Linked DNA regions of Homo sapiens: regions 1, 3, 4, 5, 6 and 7 are each linked to region 2. The links are contacts of gene promoters, found by promoter capture Hi-C in human tissues and cell types (Jung and others, 2019). All regions are on one chromosome and are shown on one strand. The core of a region is centred on a gene start or on the middle of the fragment in contact, and the rest is flanking DNA. Distances in the headings are between cores, read along the strand shown. Region 1 has its middle 410 kb from the start of TOX-DT. Region 2 holds the start of TOX (thymocyte selection associated high mobility group box). Region 3 overlaps TOX (thymocyte selection associated high mobility group box). Region 4 has its middle 94 kb from the start of NSMAF. Region 5 has its middle 73 kb from the start of NSMAF. Region 6 has its middle 54 kb from the start of NSMAF. Region 7 overlaps LOC105375859 (a long non-coding RNA gene).

What was found. Contacts are between HindIII fragments. The study calls those that stand out against the background at their distance.
Region 1: a fragment that was not itself captured here is called in contact with the fragment with the promoter of TOX in region 2 in 1 of the 25 tissues and cell types used here (mesendoderm cells).
Region 3: a contact is called between a fragment that was not itself captured here and the fragment with the promoter of TOX in region 2, in 1 of the 25 tissues and cell types used here (dorsolateral prefrontal cortex).
Region 4: a contact is called between a fragment that was not itself captured here and the fragment with the promoter of TOX in region 2, in 2 of the 25 tissues and cell types used here (IMR-90 fibroblasts and lymphoblastoid cells).
Region 5: a contact is called between a fragment that was not itself captured here and the fragment with the promoter of TOX in region 2, in 3 of the 25 tissues and cell types used here (lymphoblastoid cells, mesenchymal stem cells and thymus).
Region 6: a contact is called between a fragment that was not itself captured here and the fragment with the promoter of TOX in region 2, in 1 of the 25 tissues and cell types used here (stomach).
Region 7: a fragment that was not itself captured here is called in contact with the fragment with the promoter of TOX in region 2 in 2 of the 25 tissues and cell types used here (H1 embryonic stem cells and heart right ventricle).

The regions. Positions count from the first base shown.
Region 1 is chr8:59,531,221-59,534,030 of GRCh38, forward strand. No RefSeq gene overlaps it. Among named protein-coding and RNA genes, the nearest start is that of TOX-DT, 410 kb to the left of the region's middle. The HindIII fragment of the contact is 3,363 bases long and covers 1-2,810 here.
Region 2 is chr8:59,117,576-59,120,410 of GRCh38, forward strand. TOX (thymocyte selection associated high mobility group box) reads right to left here and starts at 1,572. Exons shown (of 9, transcript NM_014729.3): 1 at 1,311-1,572. The coding sequence starts at 1,412. TOX-DT (TOX divergent transcript) reads left to right here and starts at 1,635. Exons shown (of 3, transcript NR_149031.1): 1 at 1,635-1,710; 2 at 2,382-2,496; 3 at 2,761-2,835. RefSeq lists a silencer at 2,097-2,316. The HindIII fragment of the contact is 9,409 bases long and covers 1-2,835 here.
Region 3 is chr8:58,826,327-58,829,069 of GRCh38, forward strand. It overlaps TOX (thymocyte selection associated high mobility group box), which reads right to left. Exons shown (of 9, transcript NM_014729.3): 6 at 496-576. Among named protein-coding and RNA genes, the nearest start is that of NSMAF, 170 kb to the left of the region's middle. The HindIII fragment of the contact is 6,763 bases long and covers 1-2,743 here.
Region 4 is chr8:58,752,519-58,755,222 of GRCh38, forward strand. No RefSeq gene overlaps it. Among named protein-coding and RNA genes, the nearest start is that of NSMAF, 94 kb to the left of the region's middle. The HindIII fragment of the contact is 8,904 bases long and covers 1-2,704 here.
Region 5 is chr8:58,731,096-58,734,005 of GRCh38, forward strand. No RefSeq gene overlaps it. Among named protein-coding and RNA genes, the nearest start is that of NSMAF, 73 kb to the left of the region's middle. The HindIII fragment of the contact is 5,232 bases long and covers 1-2,910 here.
Region 6 is chr8:58,712,060-58,714,827 of GRCh38, forward strand. No RefSeq gene overlaps it. Among named protein-coding and RNA genes, the nearest start is that of NSMAF, 54 kb to the left of the region's middle. The HindIII fragment of the contact is 8,977 bases long and covers 1-2,768 here.
Region 7 is chr8:59,614,175-59,616,874 of GRCh38, forward strand. All of the region lies in intron 2 of LOC105375859 (a long non-coding RNA gene), which reads left to right. Among named protein-coding and RNA genes, the nearest start is that of TOX-DT, 500 kb to the left of the region's middle. The HindIII fragment of the contact is 4,702 bases long and covers 1-2,700 here.

The DNA of each region.
Region 1 (2,810 bases), core at 91-2,590, 410 kb after region 2:
CTAGTACTCTTGAGACAATGGACGTGATTAAATATGATTAAGTGTGATTTTTTAATTCTTACAAATGTGGAGCCTGCTGAAGATCGGCTTCTATGGAGTCCCATTGATTTAATTTGGGCATACTGTAATTTACTGGGCTGGAGTAGAAACAGTAATCCGGCGAGGCCATCATAAGCTCATTAGAAACACACTGGGAATGCTTAATGCCGGACAACCCACAGCTTTTTACATCCATTTTATAGTGATCCTCTCTTGCCTTGCCCACTGCTCACTACTGCATGCCATTGATGGTGTGGTCGTTTTCAAACACACCCCAGAAAATGAGAGGTATTTTTTAAAACAAGATTTAAGTCACCAAGAAACATATAAAACAGCATTTCTAGTATAAAACAACAACAACAACAACAACAAACTTCTCGTGTTGTTAATCATGGTAAGATTGGTTAGCTGTTAAGTACTGTAGAATGCAACTAATCAAGAGCTCAAACATCCTACACAATGAAACAGAAATAATTATTCTCCCTGAGCTGCTATTGTTTCCTGCCTCAGCCATCCATGGACTAATAAAAGGTTTAATTTTAAATGGTGCGAAGGAAATGTCAGTGTTACAAAGAAATACAATGTAAAGCCACTTTGCTCACCATCAGGTAAAACACATAAGGAATTAGACCTTAATAGACTAAAGCTAAGTGAAGCCTAAACAAACCTGAGCAACCACTCCCCTCTAGCCCCGTGCAATTTTTTCTCCTTGCTCCTAATTGATATCACCACATTAAAAAAGCCTGGTTTCCAACATCCTCACCTTTCAGATGAGAATGTTCTGATAAGGTGTGAGAGCTCTGGTTATGAGGTATATGTGTCTGTGCTTATGATATCAGTTACGCACAGTGGGTGATTTAGTTCAAACAAGGGACGTTTATTCTGATGTTTCACAGGAAGAGAGGGGGAGGCAAGGGCAAAGGAGAGAAAGATGGCTTAAAGGCTTCCTGCATTCAAATGCTGTGCCTGTTTCCATTTTTACCACCTTCAAAAAAAAAAAAAAAAAAAACTAAGATAACATTTTAACATTTAAATCCAAAGCTTGTTTTTGAAACCAGTTTACTAAGAAAGTAATGCACACTATATGAATAATGGAAAGGGACAATTCTTCTGAAATCTTTATTGTGGATTTTGCAATATAATTTGACTGATGTCAAACAGAATCAGCAAAGAGAAAAAAATATATTAGGAAAGCATGTGCATTAACCAGTTAATGTTTATCACATGGTATCCTTCTAAAAAACCAAAACACCTTGGGAATTTCAGAGGATTTGATTATATTTGTTTATTCTTTTATCTATCTACAAATATATGTTAATTACTCACTGCTTCCTTGTATTACGTGTTATGGTTGCTTCAAATGCAGTAAATAACATTTTTTCCCTGAAAGAATTACAGTCTATTTTTTTAAGTCAGACGGTAAAGCGTTATGCACTAGCTGGGAAACAGTTCCATGCTGTACCCAGTAGACAGCATGGATGTTGGAACTGGCTAGTCCCAGGGCTCAGATTCCGGCTGCTCTTACAACAAGTCACGTCAGCACTCTGGGCCAGTAAAATGAAGGCAGTAATACCTGTTGGCTGGTTGTGAGAATGAGAGAAGATGGATAATGTACGTAAGTACCTAGTGCAATCTCAGGCACACAGTTAGTTCTCAAAAATTTGTAGTTCTGTAGGGAAGGAAAAAATCATTTTCTCTCTACCTTTCATAGTTCTTCATTCAAATGGACCCCACTAACAAAAGACAGATTAATAAGAGAAAAACAAACAAGTTTAATAACATGTATATCTCATGTTTACATAAGAAATACCTAGAGAAATGAGAGAGCTTTGAATTCAGGCTTAAATACCACTGTCCATGGAAATAAAGAATGAAGGGCCCAGGGAAGCTCAGAAATGAGAGGTCACCAGGAAAAACACTGAAATTGGTGCCTTCCCTATTGACAAGTCTCCAGTGATTTGCAGCCATCCTTCCCTTCCTGGTCCTGAGAGAGAGACTCCCTTACAAATGAAGATTTCCTTTATAGTTATACATTTCTCTTACAAAAGGATAACTTCTACCCTTGTTTTCAGAGCTTCTCTGGTTTCTGCAGTTTCTCCAAACTATCAGCTCAAAATAATCCTTATATCAAAGAAGCATATTTTGGGGTGGCATATTCTCACCTCCTATAGGTCTAATAACCAAAATAATAGGACATTACATGACTTGTATTATATTTTATATTTTTCCCTCCTCTTCCAGGCATTTGCTTCACTGCCACCAGCATTATATTTTCTAAACTACCGTTCTGTTAGTGTGATTTTCCTACTCGAAGTCATTTGTCTGTAGCTATAGTTTTCAAGCATTTTTTAATAGGCAATTCGTTAAAAAAAAAATAAAACCCTACATACAAAATGAATAAAAAAGCAATATTTTAGTAGTATGAAATATTTTAAGCTTTGTAACATATACTTATTATAAGGCAAGAACATAAGAACAATGAGATACTTTTAATAACAACGTTAATGTATTCTATAATAATTTTAAAATGACAGCTAGGAATGATTGTGAAGTCTTGTATCAGTCTCAGCACTAAAGTTATCTTGAACTTTCATTTCATTTGTGCAGAATAAACATGATATTTCTTCATAAAACTAAGTAGTCATTAATGATGAGATATTTTTTATAACCCAATTTACAATCTCATTGTTAAAGTAATTTAACTGATCTTTTCAGAAGACAAAAACTTTTATAGTTTGCAAACACTATCGAAATTTACTCAGACTTCTGAC
Region 2 (2,835 bases), core at 322-2,821:
CGGAGCTGCGACTCGGTCGCGTGGTGCGGAGTCCAGGGCTGAGAAGGCAGCGCACTAAATATCTCTGTATCAGGTAAAAAAGCCGTTTGGTGATGACTCGCCACCAGGCAAATGTTGGGAGTCCCAACGATTTTTCCCGTGGAATGCACCGAGGGTCGCCATGGATGTGCCTGCAGGGGCTGTGAGTATCAGGCAGATTTATCACCAAGCGAGAGTTGGGCGTCTAAAAGGCCCGCCCAGCGTTTTAGAGAACTCAATTCTCTCTGCCAACGTTCATCCAACGGGACTGCTTAGACACGTCCAACTAGCCCTAGGCGTGGGCAGTCGTGCCCCTGCGACCACTCTGGGGGACCGGTCCCTGCGTGTCCTCCCTCTCTGGGATGAGAGAGTTCGAGAAGCCGGGAGAGTAACCCCCTCCCTCGTACCCCCTGACTGTCCTATAGGTGGACCCAGCCGAACTCCGCAGCAGCCCAGGCCAGCGCCCCACCTCCGGGTCACCGGCATGATCCGCCTCTCCCCGGGCCCCCGCGGCCCTGGCACCCGAGGTCAGCGGGCCGTGGGTACAGCTCAGCCGCGGACCCTGCTCCGCGAGTGCGGGAGCTTTGGACTTGAACGCGACGTGCTCGCCCGGCTCCCAACAAACTTGCAATTTCCGCGCGCACCCCTTAAACAGGAACTGTTCCCCAAACCTTGACCCAGCTACCCCGCTGTGCTCTGGCCCGCGGACCTGTGTCCGAACCCGGGCTCGGCTGCCGGAACCGGTTTGAGAAAACAAAAGAGTTGTGGGGCAGTTTTCCCTGTGGGGGGCAGGGGCGCCTCCCAGGTCCCTGCACCCCGACTCCCGGCTGCTCCCCTGGCAACTAATCCGGAGAAGGGAAGTGGTGCCACGAGCCCCCACTGCCCGGGGAGGGAGGGAGAGAGAAGGGGGAACTGGGAAATAAACTGAATTCTCTTACTCTGCCTCCGTTCCTGGACCCCAGACACACCCCCAAAGTATTCCACGGTTTTCTCTTATTATTTTTTTAAACGCCCCCCGGCAAACCTAGGCAGGGATCCTTAGCCGCGAACAGCAGGAAGGAAAGAATCCGAGCAAATCGTGTCACTTTCCGCACAATCGCGGTGTTTGGCAAGCCCCCGGAGCTACTCCACAATATTTACTACCCAAGCGCACGCAGGCTGCAGCGGGCTGCGAGCCGAGCGCGCCCGGGACCGGCCTCCGCCAAGCCGGCCCCGCCGCGGCCCGGCCACCGCCGCTCCCCTCCCAGGATCAAGCAGCAAGAACACGGTGGAAACAAAAGCAGAGCGTTCACCTTGTTGCAATAGTAGGGGTCCAGGCAGGGAGAAGGTCCCAGACAGGGAGCGTCGGGCGCAGCGGCGGGCTGGGCTGGAGGTGGATAAAATCTTACGTCCATTTCACTCTCACATCAAGCAACTCCTTTTCTTTTTCCTTTTTTAAAAAAAAGTGTTCAGCAAAACAAGCTTAGACGGAACAGAGTGAGGTGTCTGGGCTCAGGAGTAAAAGAAACACCTTCCTTCCCTCACATCCGTTTGTGGTTTGTTTAAGAAGAAGAGGAAAAAAAAAAAAAAGAGGGGGGAAAAGCGCTCAACTCTCCCCCAAGCCGCGGCGCGCACCCGTCGGCGCCGAGCGCGCAGCCTGCTCCACCGCCGCCTCTTGGTCCCGCCGCCGCCGCTGCCGCCGCCGCCGGGCAGGTAACTTCATGCGCTCATTGTCCCCCCCGCCCGCCCCCCCATCCCCGCCTCCCGCGCCCCTCGCAGCCCGGCACACGCGCTCGGGCTCTAGGTACTGGGCGTTTTATTGGAGATTCTGAGTTGTTCTGCTTGTAGTTTATTTTCTCCACCTTGGAGGCCCGGGATGTGGGGGGTGGGGGGGTGGGGCGGGGATCCAGAAGGGACAGGGCGGGAGGGGGGCGAGCGTCCCGGGCCGGGCGGGGTAGGGAGCGCGGCCGGACGCGGGCTCGTCAAGGCCCAATGGCTGCTGTTCGGAACCAGAGGCCGGGGACCGGAGAAAGGAGGAGCGGAGAAGGAGAAGGAGGAGAGCACGGCCTGGCTGGGACAGAAGCGGTGGGACCCTGGGAGGCCTCCGCTGTGCCCGTGCCGCGCTCCTCGGGACCAGCGCGTCGCACACAAAGGGGCTGCCGAGCCAGAGCCACCAGCGGCCTCAGGGCACCGTGGGGAGCGCGCAGCTAGGGGGCGCTGTGGCGCACCCCGCCCCGCAGCCCCGCCCCCGGCCCTCCCCGGCCCCACCCCACTCCCACCGCCCTCTCCGCGGCCGTCCCCACCCCTATCTCCGCGACCCCCACTCCTCCTCGGCTGTTCCCCAACCCTGTCACTGTGCTCCCCTCCCTACTCCCGGCCCGTAGTGGAGGTGACTTTCCTGCGCAGCGCCGCTTCTGAGGGCGGAGAACCCACAGGGAGTGCGACCCCTTTGCACGCTGTGAGTGGGCAACTGTCCGAGGGACTCGAGCCGATCGAAGGGTGAGGACCAGCTCGCCTGGGGGTGGACGGCCTGGAAAAGCCGCCCCTCTTTGGCTTCCCTCTGCCGCCTGCAGCCCGCACCCCTCCGAGATTCGTGCCCCACTGGACGGTTTGCGAAGGCTGAGGCTGCCTTGGGGACTCACAAAAGACCACAGGGGTGATTCGAAGTGTAAATAGGGAAACAATCATCAGCACACAATCCGGCTAAAGGGATAACATATGAGTTTGCTTGTTGTCCTTCATGGGATTCTTCTCTTTTTATAGCTGGACGCCCTATAGGGCTCTTGGCAGTCCACGAAAGACCTGGAGTCCGCCTCCCCATTTCTCCGGTCGGTGAGT
Region 3 (2,743 bases), core at 116-2,615, 290 kb before region 2:
GGAAGAACTAGTGTTTAAGATATTCTAGATCACTAAATATTTTTAAGCGGTGTTTTTATTTTCAAACAAAATGATGTGATTTATAAACATTTTTGGGTCCTGCTTACCTCCTAATGCTGCTGTAATGAGTCTAGAACTTAGAGTTGGCATGTCCTCAGTAAAGGCCAATGGCATGGGGGCCTGGAGGCAATTTAAGAAAGGGATATGGAGAAGTAGAAAGTTGGCTCAGGTTGAAGAATGTACTGTGACTAATCCACAAAACCAATCATCCACAGGTGGACAATATTTTAGAAATGGCCCAGGGGATGCTGCTCTGGTCTTTTGGAGCTGAACGAATATTTCCATATCGTATAGCTTTGTTTGTAATTTACTTTTTTTTCCAACAAAGAAGATTGTGCAGAATCGTTAAAGTGATCTTTTATGCCTTTAAGTGACTATCAAAGTCTGCGCCGAGATGGCCACAATCCTTCACAATATCACACAACTGCACGTTACCTTGGATACAAGGCTGGCTCTGTATGCTGCGAGTTGCTTCAGGTACTCCTTCTTCGCAGCCTCGGTTTTCTTTTTATAGACCTGCAACAACAGCAAAGAGTCTTAAATTAGAAAGTGCATTTGCTTTTGTTTTCAGAGAAGTACAATATAGAATGATAACTGCACACACAAACACACTTATAGTTATATAATATAATAATATATATCTCCCCAAAGATTGTGTTTTCTTACTGAAACAGATTTTTAAGAAGTATGGCAATAGACTAGAAAAGAAAAAAAAAGTTAGCAACAGTAAAACTTTACACTTTTACATAAAACATATGAAAGGTTTTATCTGGGTAGATATGAGTGTAGAGGTAGTTGGCTTACAAAGATACTATTGATGAAGGTTCCCAGGGAAACCACATGTGAGTAAACAAGGCATTCATATTTATATAATGGGCAGATAACTCCACAGCACATTCACATCCTGATATATATGTTCCACGCTAAATACAAAAACAAAGACAGAATTTAGAGATGACAAATCATGTTCAATAAGCAAATCAAAGGAAACAGAAGGGAGAGTGCAGGTTCATCACTGAGTTAAGATTTGGAGCCTTGAAGTTCTATTTTCAAAGACTCAGGAAACAGTGATGGTGATTAAGGACACGTTTGGGAGAGGAATGGGAAGCCCAAGTGGCTGTGGATTGCATGCATGCCCTGCCCTGCAGTCCACTCTGGTCACGTCCTTTCCAAGAAAAACACTGGATGTCATGGGTCTGTGGACACCTCATTTTGAAAAGGTAAAAGTGTTCTGAAATGAATTTCAGTTTACAGAAGCTTTCCATTTCTGAGAGGGAATCATCTTGAAAATAAAAGCAAAATCATCCTAAATTGAGCAAAAGTACTGAAAAATGACTTGCTTGTATGCTAAAGGTCACATTGCTAAGTTAAACAGTGAGCAGTCATTAGAGTTGAAAATGAAAGATTAGCAAAGTGAACACACATGGCTCTCTGCTACCATTAAGTTGATTCTTTCAAGGCTTTAGAGTATATTTTTTGGCAATCTTTTGAAATCAGCCTGAAAGATCAAAATATTTTTCATCCTTCACTGTGTAAATGGAAATGTATTTTCATTGATACAGCTATTTTAAATTTCCCACATTTTGGATTTTACAGCAGGGCATAAGGCTTGGCTAATATTTTGTAATGCTGAACTCAAAAACAGACACACAGATCAGTATTGAAAAGTGGCTTCAGAATTAGTCAGAGTAGTTAAATATAAATTATGTCTAAAGACCAAATATCTGCCATTTGGCAGCAGGGGTCAATTTATGGTTTCAAATGCTGACTGTGGTTTGCTGAGCCCAACGCCAGCTATGAAATTCGAGATGTGAGAAATATTGTTTATTCATGAATATTTTAATTAAAGCAGAACATTTTGCTTAAGGTAAACAAATGACTAACCTTGTCAACAGAATTATAACAGGACTGTATGAAATGAATGTGCTAATTTTTCTCCTAAAGTGGGGGGCTTCAGCCTTGACTTCTGTATTTGGCATTTTGGTCTAATAAAAGCCAAGTAAAATAAGGAATTAAGAATTAGTACAATATTATCATATAATCAATGTGCCATCATCCTAAGTATGAAACTAAAGAAACTTTAAAAACTATATTTCAGAGTTTTTTTTTTTTAAGCACAAAGCCAAGAAATCCTTTGGTTCAAGCACAGGAGTATTCTAAATTTACTGAGTTAATTATTGGAAGTCAAATTCAAATTCTTTTTTGGAAATTCACACGTGAAAACAAATAAATGCTAAAGTCGAGTAAGTGCCTTTGAACAGTGTGATCTGTGTATATCGTAAGCCTTGGTGCAGCCATGAAACAGCTCTCCTGCTTTTCATTGATTTATTTTTTTTTGAGAGACAGATTTCTGTTTATAGTTTTTCCTTAAAGCTCTTCTCAAAGACATAATTTATAATTAATGACCTTAAACTGACAATGTTTACATTTGCTTTTAATACCTCAAAACTTTCAAGAGGGTTTTTCTCCCATACAGATAGAAATCCTATTCAGGACTTTGAAGCAAACATTTAGTCAATACGTCTTTTATGGTAATGCATTTTTGTATACCCTAAGCATTTCTATCATGCTTTTATTAATATGCTACTCCAAGTGACTCCCATTCAGCTAACTAGGATGCGTTTTGCTTTCAAAGGCAAATAGAATGCACTTTGGTTCATAGCATTGCCCACAGTGGCATTTT
Region 4 (2,704 bases), core at 76-2,575, 370 kb before region 2:
ATCTGAAAAACTGGCTTATAATTTCAATATTCCCCTTGAATTCTTGCTGTCATACCAGAACATTTCACAGCTTACCCAAAGGTTCAGAAAGAAAACCCAGGTTTTCTTTTTCTTAAGCCAAAGCTTCACCTTCTCATCTACTGGATTTTTCCACTGGATCTAAGTGAAGTTTGTTTCAAGGTGTGGCATGCAGACAAACAGATCAAACAGAAAGAACATCTCTGATTACTCTGATTTCTGTAATAAGATAGAGCCTATAAGACATTAAGGACTGGATGTGAGGGACAGAGGCAGCTCTCTGGCTGACTGTGCCTGATTTCCATGGCCCTCTGCAAGCCGGCACCAAGTCCTAGCCCAGGCACAGTGTGCTGTGAATTTGGAGCTCTTGGAAATTGGCATGGGCTTGACATATAGCTAAATATATTTTGATACCTTGGAGACAGAATTTAGGATGTCTTGGACATGAGAAATTGGAGATATTGGTGGCAAAAAGAAAGAGTAAATTGTGATCATCATTGGGACTTCAAAATGAAAAGATCACCCAGATTGACATGAAATGTTCTAGCAGTCCTTCCTGAAGGGAACTTCTACCCATGACAAGGTGCTTTTTGTTTTTGTTTTTGTTTTTGTTTTGTAATGTATATATTGGTCTCTAGGGAGCATTTTGAAAATTGGAGCTTTGACAAAACTCCCAGGGCTTTAGATCCTGGTGTCTCTCTCTCTCTCTTTTTTTTTTTCTAGTTGTAAAATAGAAATCTAAAATGATCAAAAAAGATAAATAAATATAGAAAGATCAAAAAATAACAAACATTACCTCCTAATTACTTATCTTTTCTAAGCATCAGTTTCTTCATTGGTAAGATGGAAATAATAACAGTACTTCACACATCTTTTTTTTAGAATTAAATTAAACAATCCCTGTATAAAGGTGCTTAGCATATTGCCTTATTGCTTAGCACATAGTAAAAAACTCATAATAAATGAAGATATTATTATTAATGGTATTATATTAAATGTGACCATTAATAAACAATATAAAATATCTTGATTCCTTTGGTAAACAAAACTCCATCTCTAAATTGAAACTAACGGTACTCTGGGGTCGTCACTGCCTTTGGATTCAGGCTTAAGAACTCATTGGTGCGAGGCCGTGTCCACTGTGGTTCTTCTGGTAGCTAATATCCCTTGGCTGGGGGCCAAAGCACATGAGTTAGCTGAATTTTATATGACAAGTCTAGGCCATCCTTTTTGGTATTTATATAAGAATGCTTTTAGGCTAGTTTTAAAATCTTTTATTTTGTGACAATCTGTGACTTCACTTTTATTAAGTTACTTTCTCTACTATTTTAGAACAGATTGGAACAATTTGATTATAATACAAAATATTCAGTGCTAAATAGTCTATCTTTTTATGCACAATATGCTAACCCTTGGGGAGCTGAGCTGACCTCAGATTTTGGGCTTACATTTGCTTTTCCCACACTGTGTCAACTTAATGAAGAAAACAAACAAAACAAAACAAAACAAAACAAAAACACAACAGAAACGAAACCCCCCTTTATCTCAGGGAAATGGCAGATTCTAATTGTAAAGGTTTATCTTCTTTTAACTATGGTCTAGGAGAGTAGTTTTGCTACTTTATCCCAGCTCTAATATCACAAGAAATGGAAAATTCATGCATGCAAATATTGTTTATGAATATAGGCAACTCTAGATGCATTTTTTATGAACATGGAACATTTGGCTTTGCATCTGGTAGTGTGGAGAATAACAAATCCGGCTCTGCACCCTAGGAGACATCCAGATTACTTTATTATTACAATGTTTTCAATAACTCCAGGCACTTTTCAGACACCTGGATATTCATGAATGGTTTAAACCTCCCTGATAGCATTTTATTCATACAACTTTTTGAAGTTAGAGATCATTTGAGTTAGCTGGGTTTCTAAAAGCATGTGGAAAATAAATGCAAATCTTAGACCTCCTAATATGTTAGTGCTTTATTTCAGCATTGCCACTCTTTTCAAAGATTGGCCAAATCTTTGGGGCTTGTGATGGTCACCATTGAAGTTCAAGGCTTCCCTCTGGAACACATCGTACTTTCTGTTAGTCTCAAGTCATCTAAGTCTCAAGTCACTTTCTTGATTTGTGGTGGGATAAATGTAATTTCTCTGTAGAACTTAATGTAGACATTGATTAATCTAAATTAGTCTTTCACATCTTTATAAGTAACTCATCATTATGATATCTAACATTTAAGTTTTTTAAGTATCTCTTAGAAATCTCTGGTTTTCATCTTACCCAGGCACTCTATTGTTTGAAAGGAATTGGATGGAAAAAGAAGACTTGGCTTTTAGTACAAAACCCACTAGAGAGCCCTTGGAAAGTTTATTTGTGCTCTTGTATATTTTGACATTCACTCAGTAGGTGAACTTACACAGAAGAGAGCCGTGTCTAATAGGACTGTCTGATTCTATTTATTTTTTGTTATCATCTTGCAGTGCTGTTTTTGGCACACAGTTATGGAAGTCACTAGTCTCCCAAAAAAACCATGGATAATCCTGTGCCAATCACTTCAAGTTGCCCTAAACACCTCAACATTGACATTTTCCATGCAGTAATTCAGCTTTTTGCTTTTGAGAACAACCAGGAATGGTGTTAAGGAGCGATGCCTCTTTTCTCATCTACAGGTTTTATTCCTAAA
Region 5 (2,910 bases), core at 72-2,571, 390 kb before region 2:
TTGGAAACAGTTTGATCCTTTCAGGTCTTGATCTCAATGTTATTGAGCAAGACTGGAGCTATACTAAGCTTAGGGACATTTTTCCCTAATGCCGAGGCAAGACTCTTCTGGGTACTCTACCCGATGTTCCTTGAATCATGAGGCTTTCCATTCTGGCTGGTGGAAACCCTGGGCACCATTACCTCTAATGTTTTGTGTGTTTTTTCCTCCAGCCTCTGGTGGTTTTCTTATTTGTGTGCCCCAATCTGTACCCATCTGAATACCTGTGGCCTTTGTTGTCCACCTAGTGTCTTGTGAGTCATTATATCATTTTGTTGTTGTCTTTGGCTGTTTCAGGTGGAGGATAAGGCCAGTCCTGGTTTCTCTATTTTAGCAGTAAGTGTAAGTCTAAAATGTGTTGAATAAATGTCAATAAAATGTTTGTTCTACCTTTTTTTTCTTCTCTTTTTTTTGAGATGGACTTTTTCTCTGTCACCCAGGCTGGAGTGCAATGGCATGATCTTGGCTCACTGCAACCTCTGCCTCCTGGGTTCAAGTGATTCTTCTGCCTCAGCCTCCTGAGTAGCTGGGATTGCAGGCACATGCCACCATGCCTGACTACTTTTTGTATTTTTAGTACAGACAGGGTTTCACCATGTTGGTCAGACTGGTCTCAAACTCCTGACCTTGTGATCCATCCGCCTCTGCCTCCCAAAGTGTTGGAATTACAGGCATGCGCCACCATGCCCAGCCCTGTTCTACCTTTCATGTTGCCCCACATAATGGAACACAAACTTAGTGTGACTGTTTACATGTTTCTGAACTTAATTCAAAATTGTTTTCATTCAGTCAAGTTACCTCACTTACGTTTGCATTTAAGAAGAGACAATATAAATGAAAGGAGTGAAAATGAAATAGTTAACTACAAAGATGAGCTACTTAACAGGATCAGGATAGCAAGACCGTTGTAAGTTTGCTCGTGCCTGTCCACCCTACCAGTTTCTTCCCTGGCACTTTGAAATAACCACATTTAATTGTCCAAAAATATTTTCACATAACATTTCTAAATGTGATCTAGTTAGATAGTACAATAATAACTCTTCTAAATAGCTAATACCTATTTGCATGGATAGAATCATGATCCATGTAATTCAACTTATTCGAGTTCAACCAATATTTGCTGGGTGCATTCAATGTGGTGAACACTGAGTTAAGCCTAGAGAGGTAGATGAATAAGAAACAGCCTCTGCCCTAGAGGAGCTCACAGAGAGGCAGAGCTGAGACGTGAGTTGACAATATGCTAAGTGCTGCAATTACCCTAATTATGGGTTGCTATGAGAGCACTGAGGTGGGCCACCTCCCACAGCTCAGGAGGATGTGATGGTTGTGATTGAGGGGGTGTAGCTGATGCCAGGGGTTACCTACTCCTCTCTCCTTCTTTCTTGCTGGAAGAGCCACCTTGATTCAGTGTTGGTATTCACTCTTCTCTTCCAGGGCCAGAAAATGAATGTTCACAAGTCTAAGCCAATCGAAGTGCTTCCCTTCTCCTGGTCACTGATTGGTTTAGGTGTGGGCCTGTAACACTGTCCTGGGAAATGAGACTTAAAAGTCATTCTTTAGACAGAACTCAGTAAAGGTTTGTCTCTGGATAGAAGGAGACAAGCAAGGAGACACCTCCTTTCCTGGCTTTGACTACAGTTGTGTGAAAACATGTATAGTATCCACGCTGTGATCATGAAAGGACATGCCTGAGGATGAACCCTAACAGAGTGAGGATGGGAGAGCAGAAATAGGGCAAGCTGTTGGGTCCTTGTTGATATCATAGCATTCCTGAAGTACAAACCTGGGCCCTTCTTTTCTGTCTCTGTATGTTTTGCTGTTTATTGTTATATAAGATAACACACCTTTCTTGTTTAAGCCACTTTCCATTATTCTGTTACATGGACTTAAAAGATTCTAACGGATACAGAAGGTTTCCCAAAGTAGTGAAGATTAGTTCGTGCTTTAAAGGGCCAAAGATATTCACCTTTGGGAGTTGATGGGTGGAAGAATGGGAGCAGGCCACTCCAGGGAAGAGCTTGTGCAAAAGCTTAGAAACACAGAGCAATATGGAAGGTTTGAGATAGGACAAGCGTTTCTCACATGGGTAGGATGTTGATTGCACATAGTAGATATCCAATCACTATCTGTCGCCTGATCACATTTATGTTTTTAATTATGTTAAATTGAGTCCAAGAAATATTCTTGAGTGTCCATGATATTACAGGGATTTTACAGGCATAAGTGGCAGAATCTGTACGGATATCCATCAAAACCCCAACTTCCTTCTAAAGTGCTAAAAATTAAAACATTTTTCAGACTCTATTAAGAGGCTTGCTATGGACTAAATGTTTGTGTCCCTTCAAAATTCATATGTTGAAACCCTAATTCCCAATGTGATGATATTTGAAGATGGGGCATTTGAGAGGTAATAAGGTCATGAAGCTGGAATCCCCATGAGGAGATTGGTACCATTACAAGAAAAGACATGTGGCCAGGCGTGGTAGCTCCCACTTGTAATCCTAGCACTTTGGGAGGCAGAGGCGGGAGGATTGCTTGAAACCAGGAGTTTGAGACCAGCCTGAGCAACATGACAATACCCCATCTCTATAAAAATTTTTTAAAAAATTATCTAGACATGGTGACATGCATCTGTAGTCCCAGCTACTAAGGAGGCTGTGGTGGGAGGATCAATTGAACCCAGGAGGTCAAAGTTGCAGTACGCTGTGATCGTGCCACTGCAGGCCAGCCTGGGTGACAGAGATTCCCGTCTCTAAAATTTTTTTTAAAAAAGAGAGAGAGACTTGAGACATAAGAGAGATTGCTGTTTCTATCCCTCTATCTCTCTCTCCTTCCTGGCACGTGAGAAAATCAGGATGAGGGTCCTTACCA
Region 6 (2,768 bases), core at 132-2,631, 410 kb before region 2:
AAATTGAAAGAAGCCCTCCACAAAAGACCATATATTATGTGATTCCATTCATAAGAAATGTCTAGAAAAGGGAAATCTATAGGACAGAAAGCAGATTCATGATTGCCTAGGGCTGGTGGGGAGAGGGAGGATACACGCCTGGGGGATAATAGCTGAAGTGTATGGGATTTGTTTTTGGTGTGATAAAAATATTCTAAAATTGACTGTGGTGATGCTTGCATATATCTGTAAATATACTAAAAATCATTCAAGTGTACACTTTAAATAGATTAATTACAAAGTACGTGAACTATATCTCAATAAAGCTGTTAAGCAAAGGATGAGAGTCATGACGTCCCTGCTTTTGATACGTAGGAGCTGAAATCAGAAGTAGTCCATTATGACACAGTATGAATTACTGTTTCGTTAGTAAAAATAATTTTTGTAGATGAATATTTATTTATACTGGATTATGTTTATAATATCTTGTTAAGCAAAATGATCTATAAAACCATATGTATGTTTCTATTTTTGCAAAAAGATATTTCTATACAGATGCTCCTCAACTTATAATGGGGTTATGTCCTGATAAACCTATCATAAATTGAAAATATCATAAGTCAGAAATGTATTTAATACACCTAATCTACCAAATATCATGGCTTAGCCTGTCCTACCTTAAATGTGCTCAGAATACTTACATTAGCCTACAGTTGGGCAAAATAATCTAACACAAAGCCTATTTTATAATAAAGTATTGAATATCTCATGAAATTTTTTGAATACTGTGCTCAAAGTGAAAACAGAATGGTTGTATGGGTACTCAAAGTACAGTGTCTAGTGAATGCATATCTCTTTCACACCATTGTAAAGTTTAAAAATTATAAATGGAACGATTGTAAGTTGAGGACCACCTGTATATAGAAAAATATATGTAAGGATAGTTGTTAAAAGTGGTTATTGGTCAGATGCGGTGGCTCATGCCTGTAATCCCAGCACTTTGGGAAACAGTGGTGGGGGGATCACTTGGGCCCAGGAGGTCAAGACCAGCCTGGGGAACATAGTGAGATCCTGTTTCTACTAAAAATAAAAAATTGAAATTAATAAAAGAACATTAGTCAAGCGTGGTGGCACATGTCTGTTGTCCACGCTACTTAGGAGGCTGAGGTGGGAGGCTTGCTCGAACCTGGGAGGTTGTGGCTGCAGTGAGCTATGGTTGTGCCACTACACAACCTATGGGACAGAGTGAGATTCTATCTCAAAAGAAAGCCCCCTAAAGTACAACAAAAACGAACAGCAAAAACAAAGGTTATCTTTGTTGGTGATATTTTGGATATTTTAATTTTTCTCTTTCTGCATATCTATATTGTCTCTAGTGAACTAATCTACTCAATACTGTGAAAAATATTTAAAAATTATTTTGTACCTCCTATAACACAATCAAAATCCCAAAGAATGTGGCTGCAGCACTGTATCTTGAAAAATTCTTTAAGAAATTTTAAACAAGCATTTACCCTTTCATAAAGAAATAATTCCAGGCTGGGTGTGGTGGCTCAACCCTATAATCCCAGCACTTTGGGAGGCCGATGGAGGCGGATCACCTGAGGTCAGGGGTTCAGGACCAGCCTGGGCAACGTGGTGAAACCTCGTCTCTACTAAAAATACAAAAATTACTTGGGCATGGTGGTGCATGCCTATAATCCCAGCTACTCAGGAGGCTGAGGCAGGACAATCCTTTGAACCGAGGAGACAGAGGTTGCAGTGAGCCGAGATCATGCCACTGCGCTCCAGCCTGGGTGACAGAGTGAGACTCCACCTCAAAAAAAAAAAAAAAATTCCAGTAAAAGAGTCATAAAATCCTTATCTTTGAGCATGCCTTCCAAGATTAACAGGCTGGGAAACGTATACTCTGGTAAATGGACAGGGTAATTACAGAACAGGGCAATCTCTTAAACATCATTTCATTCATATACAGATATATTATACTGGAATATGTCTAGGTTTCTTGAAATTACCAGTCATGTCATCAAATTTTTTTTACTACTTATTCCAATCACAGGAACATATTTAGAATCTGAAACTGAAAGTGTTTTTTTTAAATCATATAACATTACTTCCTTTTACTTCAAGTGCTTCCATTTATAAGATTATTGATCTGTTTGTGTCCTCCCCCAAATTCATAGGCTGAAACCTAACCATCACTGTGATGATATTAGAAGGTGGGGCCTTTGGGAGGTAATTAGGCCATGAGGGCAGAGTCCTAATGAATGAGATTACTGCCTTTATAAAAGAGGCCCCAGAAAGCTGCCTTGCTCCTTCTACCATGTAAAGATACAGCGAAAATATGCCGCCTATGAACGAGAAAATTGGCCCTCACTAGACACTGAATCTGCTGGCACGTTGGTCTTGGACTTTCTGTCTTCCAGAACTGTGAGAAATAAACTTTTGCTATTTATAAGTTGCCCAGTTTACAGTATTTTTTTATAGGGGCCTGAATGGACTAAGACAGTCATCCTATGTGTAAGGATATTGGTTAGTGTCACAAATGAAATAATATATTTTGTATGGATTTCAAGTTATTTGAGCTATTTCTCTGTAAGTATACTGAATGCGAACTTTTCAAACAGGCAGAAATGCTAATGGGCATACAGAAAACAAAAATCAGGAAGCAAATCAATCATATTATATTACCCAGCATTTATCAGACACCTACCAAGTACCAGGCACTATTAGGAACATTGCAGGCACTATCTTTTTTTTTTTTTTTTTTGAGACGGAGTGTTGCTCTA
Region 7 (2,700 bases), core at 44-2,543, 500 kb after region 2:
TTAAAAATGTTCTAACCACTTGGATGTAAAGACTATCAGAAAGTAACAGTAGTGGGAAGAGTCCATATTAAAATCCTAAGAGAAACGTATGTACTAGTAGGAAAGTACCCTTAAAAATCTTAATATTAAGCTTTTTAGTATTTAGATAACGAAGAAAAAAATACTGAGTCAGTTTGTATATTAGAAAGGAATTAATAAAATAAATTGAAATATTAAAAAAGAAAGCAATTAGTATAAGTGGTAAAAAATTAATGATTTAGAATATAAGAGACTAACTGATTAATAAATCCTAAAGCAAAGCACATTGTTTGAAAACTACGAAAACTAAACAGATAAGGTAAATGTGTTATATAAGTAACAGAAAACAAACACAGATGTAGAAAAATATGAATTAGTAGATAATTATAAGATAAATATATAAAACTCTATCCTAATAAATAAGAAAGTATTAATGAAATGGATGATTTCATATTAAAATGCATTACTTTAATTCTAAAAAACCAACTAAGATTGAGAAAAAGTTTAATGGAACATTACTATGTTGCTACTTTAAAAGAAAAGTCTTGTCATAGGATTATTTTTAAAAGATGCTGAACTGAAATTGCTTTTTCAGCTTTCTGATGGTTTCTAGTGTGTGTATGTCCAGAGATAGATATGTAAAACCAAACAAACATAAATATTTATAATTCCTATTTCTTATTTATTAGAACTTTCAGTACGATGTTAGATCATTGCAGGCCAATTACACTTATGAAAATATTCACAAAAATGAAATAGAAAATTGAATCCATCACCATGTTAAAGAACATGTAATAATGAGTTATGACTAAGTAGAGTTTATGATGAGTGCAGGGATACATTATATTAAGACATCTACAAAAAAAGGGGAAAAAAGAAATCTACAAATATAATTAATCATTTTAATAGTTTACTTTAGTAAACTATCTTATTAGATTATACTTCCTTACTATATTAAATAGTATATTTTATATCAATAATCTATATAGAATTAAATCTAGATGTATTTCCATTAAAGGCAGAGGATCACACTTTTTTATGCTTATCTTTAAAATAATTGGGAAATATAACACAAAAATAAAATATGAAATATATAAATTTAAAAAATAGGAAACCATAAAATCAGAAGAAAACATACAATGCTTTTCCAACCAAATAAGAATAGTTTTCAGGAAAGAAAAAAAGAGTAGATAATTATAAAATTAACAAATGCTATGAACAGACAATTTACAAAGAAATGCAAATATTCAGTAGACAATGTACAGATGTTCAACCTGACTGGTGATTCAAAACAAACAAAGTTAATAGTTACATTTTTATTTATCAAATAGAAAATGTTTGAAAATACAAGAAGCCTGGTGTGGTCAAGGTGCTAAGAAAATAGGCATTCATGTACACTGTTGATAGGAGCAAGAACTGGCAATTTTTTTTGGTGGAAAAAAATTTAATATGAACCTAAGTCTTAAAATATGAGTTTGAATTCCATCTCTCCTATAGCCCCTTTGTACAAATTTAACCTAAGGGAAAAATGCACTAATACAAACAAATGCTTTCAAGAATGATTTTCTTAATTACTTAATTTCTTAACAAGATGCAGTGAGATCTCCCACCTAATCTTCAAGGTAGGAGTCAGTTTTACAGGCCACAGTTTTTCAACCCTCAGCTTCTTTGAATGACACCATACGCTTCTACTGAATACGTGCCCAGATTGACCCTCCAGTCCATCTTACAATGTGAACGACACTGGTTACTATGGTTCTCCTTCTGCCCCAGTCAGGAGGAAGGGCTTCTTCCAGGATGAGGAAGCCCTTGCCAAGTGACTGGGGCAGGAGAACCATAGTAGACCTTGCTCTAATTTTGGTCACAGCTGTTCCTGTGGAATAGAGCTTCATAAATGTAGCATTATACAAACAACAGCTACGTTTACTGTGTAATTACCGTGTTCCAGACATTGTTTTAGTACATTTTATGTATTTAATACATGAAATAACCTGATGAGGTAGGTAATTCTATCTATATCCTTGTTTTAAAGATGAGAAAAGCAAGGCATAGATAAGTCAGTAACTAGCCCATAGTCACCCCAAAGCCACATCACACCCAGCCCCACTGCATTGCAGCTCCAAACAACACTGGTGAATGCTTTCACTGTTTGTATACGGAGAATTTATTGAAAGATTACATTTTTTCTAGGCCAGTGCTCTCAATGGAGTATCAGTGTGTCCTACAGCCTGGCAAAAAACTCTTCAGAAGTACACATGTTCCTCACTTCTGTATCAAATTCAGATACATGCTTTAAAAGTGCGGGAGGAAGAAAAGAAAATAGCAATGTATGAAGACTAAATAGAGAAAACACAATTGAGCAGCAGAGGGAGAAATCAGAGGACAGAAGTGTGAAAAAACAATAGAAGGTCTTCCTCTGCGTTGACCCTAGGTCCACAACTCTAGACGAAGTGCTAAAAATAACTTCACTATTCTCAGGGGAGAGGGAAGGAACTGTGAAGTTTTCTGCTCTCACACTTCAGGTTTCCATAAATAGTTTCAATACTTGTAGGCTACAGGGGAGAAGAATGAGTCTTCTCATGGTTTTTGGACATAAGGGATGTATATTGACCTCTGAGAATTAAATTTTAAATCACCATAAAATAGATGAGAACAGAGATATACAAATCCACTGTAAAGAAA